Regions from separate parts of the Homo sapiens genome. Here region 1 is linked to region 2. Evidence: promoter capture Hi-C in human tissues and cell types (Jung and others, 2019). All regions are on one chromosome and are shown on one strand. Each heading gives the region's core, a stretch centred on a gene start or on the middle of the fragment in contact. The rest is flanking DNA. Distances are from core to core; before and after follow the strand shown. Region 1 overlaps LINC02406 (long intergenic non-protein coding RNA 2406). Region 2 holds the start of ALG10B (ALG10 alpha-1,2-glucosyltransferase B).

What was found. The method cuts DNA at HindIII sites, captures the fragments that hold promoters and counts their contacts. A contact is called where the count stands out against the background at its distance.
Region 1: a contact is called between a fragment that was not itself captured here and the fragment with the promoter of ALG10B in region 2, in 1 of the 25 tissues and cell types used here (lymphoblastoid cells).

Annotation. Positions count from the first base shown.
Region 1 is chr12:39,114,531-39,118,121 of GRCh38, forward strand. The region is part of intron 1 of LINC02406 (long intergenic non-protein coding RNA 2406); the gene reads right to left. Among named protein-coding and RNA genes, the nearest start is that of LINC02406, 29 kb to the right of the region's middle. The HindIII fragment of the contact is 4,376 bases long and covers 1-3,591 here.
Region 2 is chr12:38,314,561-38,318,218 of GRCh38, forward strand. ALG10B (ALG10 alpha-1,2-glucosyltransferase B) reads left to right here and starts at 2,214. Exons shown (of 3, transcript NM_001013620.4): 1 at 2,214-2,504. The coding sequence starts at 2,334. RefSeq lists an enhancer at 1,285-2,484. The HindIII fragment of the contact is 10,698 bases long and covers 1-3,658 here.

The DNA of each region.
Region 1 (3,591 bases), core at 324-2,823, 800 kb after region 2:
GTACCTTTTTCTAGCAATACAAAATGGACTAATACAACACACAACTTGGACTACAAGATAAGAAGATGAGGAAATTCTTGGTTCATGCAACTATAAATTCTCCATTTCCTCCCCTTCTTTCCTCTTTGCTGTCTTCATTCTCAGGGAGAATGGAAAGATGGTTACAAACAATTCCAAGTTTAGATTATCCTGACAGGTAACCATCCCAGTGAAGAGGATCCAGTGTAATTATGGATTATGTATAATCAAAAGAATATGTCTAGTTAGCTTAATTGAAGTCTTTCGTCAACATCCTAGAAAGGTGTATGTGAGCACTCACTGGCAAAAGGACAGCCTAACTTAAACCATGTGACTGACCTAAGAATGGGGGAGGGGTGGTTTTCCAAAGAGAGTGGGCAGACAGAAACCTGCTCACTTCATAGAGTCTACCCAAGGCTAATAGACTTCAAAACTGACTGATTCATCATGAGAACTTGCTGTTTGTGTATATTATCAAAATAAAGACCCAATAAAATAGGTAAAAGTTATATAGCATTTGTCAATATGTCAGATAGCATTCTAAGAGTTTACTTATAGTAACCCATTTAATCTTTCCAACAACAAGAGGTAAATTTTCATTTTTCAGATGAGAAAATTAAGGCACAAATACATTAAGTAAAGTGGCAAAACTAGGATTTGAATCCAGGAGTCTGGCTCTAGAATTCGTGCCTTTAACCATTATGCCATTTATTATTCCTTCTCTGAGGTTGAGAGGAAACATTAAGATGAAGTAATGAAAGGTGAAATTTAGCTTATCTGATTAACAGCTGTGCTGGTTATCTGCAGTTGCCACTCCAGATAGTGGTCTCCACTTACTAGCCCTCTCTGTCTTGGGTTCTCCCACTGCTCCCTCCCATCGCTACTGCAAGCATGGAAGTAATATCTTCTTAACTGTACTAAACTCAAAGTGTTTCACTATCCCTTGTTGATGCTCCTAATTTTGTCTCAAAGCTTTGTAGAGTCCTTCTATTAAGTTCATCAATAGTAAGCATGGTGGTGCCATCTCTTTCTTGCTTATTTCCAGGCTGATACAATAGACACAATTCTGTTATTAGTTATTTGAATTTGAAAGAGGATATCCATCACAGAGCTCAAAAATAGCTTTTCTCCTTGAATGGAAAGATATATCATTTTTATACACAATGGGAAAAAGCTAATTTTACAAATCTAAAGCAGAAGCCTTTTACAAGAATCATCTCACTATTTTTGGATGGGCTTTTTGGGGTTAACAAACATTTTTTTTTCAATATACAGCCCTCCCTTTGATGGAGTTGTCACGTTTACAAATTAATTTAAATTATATTAACCATAGCATACCTAGACTTCTGACACTAATATTTTAATGGTCATATAAAGGAATTACATTGATTCTTCTAAATTTTGTGATTTGGCAAACTACAATGGACAAAGACATTGTCTAAGCCTAATTTGAGGAACTTACTTAAAGCAGTTGGTCATAAACAATTATCAGGTTATATAGCAGAGAGAGCTAACTACCCAGCAAATATTTGTGCTGCCCTTCCACATGGTTATTGGTTATCGAAGGTAGTTATTGAAGGCATCTTCCTGACCAGAGACTACATTTTCTTTTCAGCCCTCTGACATGTGAGTGGAGTCATATGACTGAGTGGGGTTGTACCTTAGCCTACATATTCCACACATGATACCTATTACATAAATGAAAGAATTTCTAAGTAAAGTACAAGTCTCTTAACAGTAACATAACCACTCCTGAAGATGGGGTATAAATGTGGATTCAGGGCCTGCCATAGATGCTCTTCTAGCACACTGTACTTATCCAACCACAATGCTTATGAGGCTGTATCACAATGGTTTAAGTACTATTTTCCATCCTAGCCTGGAAGGAAAGCAAACACTGTTCTATAGTGTTCATCATTGTTCTTCCCCAAGACCTAACATAACACCTGGTGTATAGGAGTCACTCAATAACTATTGGCTGAATTTTTGAATTACATTTCTATGAATAGAAACACTACAGACATATCTTCCTACCAAGAGAGTGAGAAGTCAGAGGGATATGCACATATCTTTCCCTAAAATGTATCTTTATGGTTTCTCCTCTTAAAAGAGATATAGAAAATAAGGCTATCAGCCCATTGTCCAATATGTTAAGTACTCAACAAACACTTGGAATAAAGGAAGAATGAATGTGCAAATATTCCGGCCTCTATTTTCTAACAGCACTCTCCTTTAACATGTTTTGCAATGGAGATGCAAATTTTACTCACAACACACTCTAGTGTGAAAATAAAATGATGAGGTTGTGTGGCATTGGCCTTTGGCCTTGAAGTTCCCACTTCTTGTGGTCTGGGGCCTCCACTGCTCTCCTCATCCTCTCAGCACTTTTGCATCTATTCTACTGGAATAAAAAGGCATTTCTCAATCCCAGGCATTTCATTTGCAGGCCATAGGGAGCCAAGAGTATAGCCTCAGGCTCATATATTTAGTCTCTCTCCTCCTCAAATCCACACTCTCCCTCCATTAATGTTGGATGTGGCACTGAGCCAAGTGCATCAATTCTCCTGTAGGCCTGCAGCCTCCCTCAGGCTGTGCCTAGGAAAGCGTAGCATGATTTCCAGCATTCTTGATTTTCCGATATGTATTTGAAGTTTCTGCCACATCAAACTCATTCAAAGCTGGACCTGTGAAAGAGAAAATGCTGACATGAGATCTGTCCTCTTGCCCTCTCACTCCTCTAATGGAAAAGAAAAGCTTTTCTGTCTCACAAGAATATACTGAGTTTTCTCTTTGTGTTTCTTTCTGAGCTTACTTTTCTCCTAGACTCATTTTCGGCACTGTTACAGTAGGCAGCTAGTTAGACACAAACAGGGCAGGAGAGGGCTCCCCGCAACCCCCAACCCCCAACCAGGAATGTCAGGAAACCATCAGGTGATGGTCTGGTGGTTGTTAACTGTTTCTCTAAAAGAATAATAGGTAGCAGCCAGCACCAGGGAAAGGCAGGCTCCCAATACATAGGAAAAGCCTGAAACTGGTGATCAGTAGCTTCCCGATAAGATCTGAGGAGTTGGGTGAGTGGGCTCACACAGGCACACTAAGAGGAAAAATGGCAGAGGTTAAGTGGTATATGATGCCTTAGGGATATTTGACTGGTAAGGGAAGAACACCTCAGGTGAGCATGCATACGACTCTAGTAAACACACTTTGCATGCTCCCCTCCCAAGTGCTGGCAGGCCCACTTGCACTTATGGACAGCCCTTCCCTTGGGGGAAGAATCAGGGGAGAAGGGATGCAAGACCCTGGAAGTATGCCAGCATATAAAACCCCAACTCAATAGGTCCAACTGTTCACTTGATCTCTCAAGTCACCTGCTTGGTCCTCTTCCAAGTATACTTTCATTTCTTTTGTTCCTGCTCTAAAAATTTTTAATAAACTTTCACTCCTGCTCTAAAACTTGCCTCAGTCTCTCCTTCTGCCTTCTGCCTCCTCTAATGAATTTTAGGAGCCAAGAATTGAGGTGTCTGTAAACCCTTGTGTATTCACCACCACTAACATACTTTGGTGCCCTGTTTC
Region 2 (3,658 bases), core at 964-3,463:
AAGATTATCAAAGATGCTGTAATCTAAGAGTAGAAAAGTGACAACAGCTTCATCGATTTGCAGATAGTAAAAGTAACTCACTAACAAATGAGTGAAGTACTCTATGAAGAACTCTACTGGGCCCATGGAGCTTCTTAGCATTCTTAGGTAATATGTTTTACATCAATCGTTTCCAAATATGAAGATCAGTATTCAGTGATTTGAGATGGCTCTCTAGAATCTAGTTTTTCACAATGATCCCCCAGCAGATTTTGATGTAATTAGTCTGTAAGACGAACATTTTTTTAAAAGATGAAACTTGTATTTCAAATTGGTGTATGGAAACAGAGAATAGTGGAATGTAAATGTAAAGTTATTGGGACTAGTGAAACATTCAATTCAGTATATATTGTAGATTATTTTAACCTATAAGGCTGTGAAGTTATTTTATTACTCTTGGTCTGATGTTCTAATTCCTACACTTGGTTCTGACACTAATTTTTTATGTAATTTTAGGTAAATTATTCATTTTTTAAAAATCAGCTTCTTTTATAAAATGAAGTCAAGTAGATTATTAATAAAGATCCCTAGCCATCCTAAAACCCTATATTTCCTTGAAACTTTCCATTTTATGTAAAGCGATGTGTGCAGCATGTATAGGAGTCAAATGTTTAACATAAACTATTGGTGGCAATTGTTATGAAGAAAAATGGAGAGCATAAATGTCTAGTCTTGTTCTACTCCCTTTAAAAACGGCCCACTATTTCTAGGGTGGGTCAGTAAGCTGCAGAGTATATATAACACGATTTAGCAGGTCAATAGGTCAGGGGCTAATTACTCGTAGATCACATCAACCTCTTGAAGACTGAATCATCTGGAGATGTGTTACAAGTGACTTAAACAGATAAGTACAGCATGGAATCAATAATAAAATGGGAGATGATGGTTAAAGCAAAGCTAAGCATCACATCAGAGTAGAATCCTGACATGATTTTATTCCAGTAATGTAAATATTCCCGTCCCAGCCCTCATTCACCACTACCTCCTCTTATCATTGAGGAAACAGGCAGAGACAGACTGGAAAGGCAGTCAGCTTGATTTAAGAAACTTTCTTAAGTTCAGAAATACTGAATTATTTTTAACCCAGAAAAAGAGCTCAATTGAGAACTCTGAGGTTTGCAACCTTAAATCCCGACTCAATCTGATATATGCCTGCCAAAGGCAACCTGACTGAGGTTACCTGAGAGAAAGTTTTTCTACAAAACATGGCCAACCATGCTCAAGACAAAATTCCAACACATAATTTATCTTCGGCATTCTTCAAATTATTTACCACATCTCCTGCCCCCAACACCTAATCCCAGAATACAGGAATTTGATGATGTCTACACAGCCTATAAAAGTCCACAAATTTAAGTGCCTACTGTGTGAAAGCCATTTGGGGGACTACAAACATAAAGGATGTATAATGCCACCCACTAAGATGTTCACGCTTATGATTTAGTAGGAAAAACAGAAGGCTGCCTTATAAATATTAACAACCTAATTTACAGGCACACCTAAAACATCCCAAATTCTAAAATATATATTTTCTTCCAAATCCTACAGGGTAATATGGCTATGAGAGTGCACTAGGAGTGTCAATTTTACTAAATCCTCTGAGAGCATCCACATTTTGAAAGAGTTCTCTCTTAACCTAAACAAACAAACAAACGAACAAACACTCCTCTCACTGAAGTTCATTCGGCATTGACGGGTCTCTGGTTCTTCAAGTTTTCATCTGAAAGTCTCAGTCTTTGCTATCACAACCAACGCCCCCTTCCTACACTCCAAGGTTGATGGAATGAAATGTCTTGGAATTGAGGGTTTAATTAATTCGGATCACTGGAGAGAAAGAAAAGAAATAACGGGGGAAAAAAATGTGTTAATTTTAGGGCTTGGAATTGGAAACGTGGGGAAACGTCGCCACCTTCTGGTAAGTGATGGAAATGAGCAGGAAAAAAGATCCAAGCTAAGAAGCGGCTTTTTTTTTTTTCCAAAGCAGCAAGCCACGCCCCTCCCGCGCTCGCGAAATCCGAGACCCGCCCTTTCCGGAAGTTTTGACACTGTGCGCCCCGAGTAATGTGATGGAGAGGGTAATCATCCGGTCCGTTATCTAAACCCGTCACTCCAGGAAACAGCGACCCGCTGTTTTCCGGATCCGCGCTCTCCCAGCATCCTTTGCCTTCCGGTATGTGGCCCCGTCTGGCTAGTCCTGTCTAGCGCGCCCATTTCGAGCCCAAGTTTCCAGCTCGGGTTTCCGGGCTCAGAATTTTCCAGGAGTGGGTTCTTGGGCAGTGGCTGTGGGAGCAGGAATGGCGCAGCTAGAGGGTTACTGTTTCTCGGCCGCCTTGAGCTGTACCTTTTTAGTGTCCTGCCTCCTCTTCTCCGCCTTCAGCCGGGCGCTGCGAGAGCCCTACATGGACGAGATCTTCCACCTGCCTCAGGCGCAGCGCTACTGTGAGGGCCATTTCTCCCTTTCCCAGGTGGGGTGCCCAACCTGTCCCCACCCCAGGAGAGGCCTGAAAGGTCCCAGCGTCCCCAGCTCCTTCTCCCATCTTTAGACTTAACTCGTCCCTTTCCACCCCACCCCAGCCTCAGAACATGAAAGAAACTGGGTATAGTCTTTTGTTCCTGTCTCTGAGATCTGTGAAATATTTATTAAATGAATGAATAAACAGCAGATCTGATCCCCAGGGAGGAGTGATCTGGGAGAATACTTAGTGGGGAACTGAGCGCTCCTCTTGGCAGCTGACAATATCGATCCCACTTTGTTTTTCCTTGTCTCAGGATTAAAGGCATTCGGGTGCTCCTTGGAAATATCAGAAAACTTCCCTTTAGCTCACCTGTTAAGCACCTCACTGTGCATTTTAGGGGTGGGATAGGGTGGACTGGAGGGATCTTCGGCTACCAAAAAGTGACAATTTATAATCACAAATTCCTTCCCTGGGTATTTTTAGTGAACTATCTGTTGACTGGATAAACTGGCAACCAGTCAAGTCACATCATTTTTGAATATATATTTGACTGTGCAAGTATGTACATATAAATATCAAAATAAACATCCCCTGCTTTTCTGGTGACACAATATAGGGTACTGGCTAGAAATATAAAGTCTGTTTTAGAGAAAGATCTGATCTTAAATCTTGGTGCTGTGATTTACTAGTTTTGTGATCTTGGAGATGTTCTGAGTTTCAGAAATTCAGGTTACTCATCTGCAAAATGACAATAATCTTTACTATAGGGCATATTGTAATGTTACAATACAGAGGGTTTGGCACAATTTCTGTCTCAGTTTATGTCAGCTGTCATCATGGAGCCTGTGGTCCAAATGTTTTCCTAAACTTAGAGTCCCAAACAATGTTTCCATGCTTTTAAAAACTGGAGCATTTGCAGTTTATTTATCAAAATAAAGGCTTTTAAAGAACATTTCTTGGAAAATAGAAATAGATTTTAAGTTGTTGTTTATTGGTTGCTGCTACCTGAACCATCACTAAGCTGGTCCGGGGGCAAAAAATAAGAAAAACTAATCCTGTTCTGCCAAGGACTTACTTAATCTTGTCATAGACTAACTTCTCAAAATTTCTGATTGTTGCTGGAGATGAGACTTGGGCTTGACATATTTGTGTCTGTCTTGTTC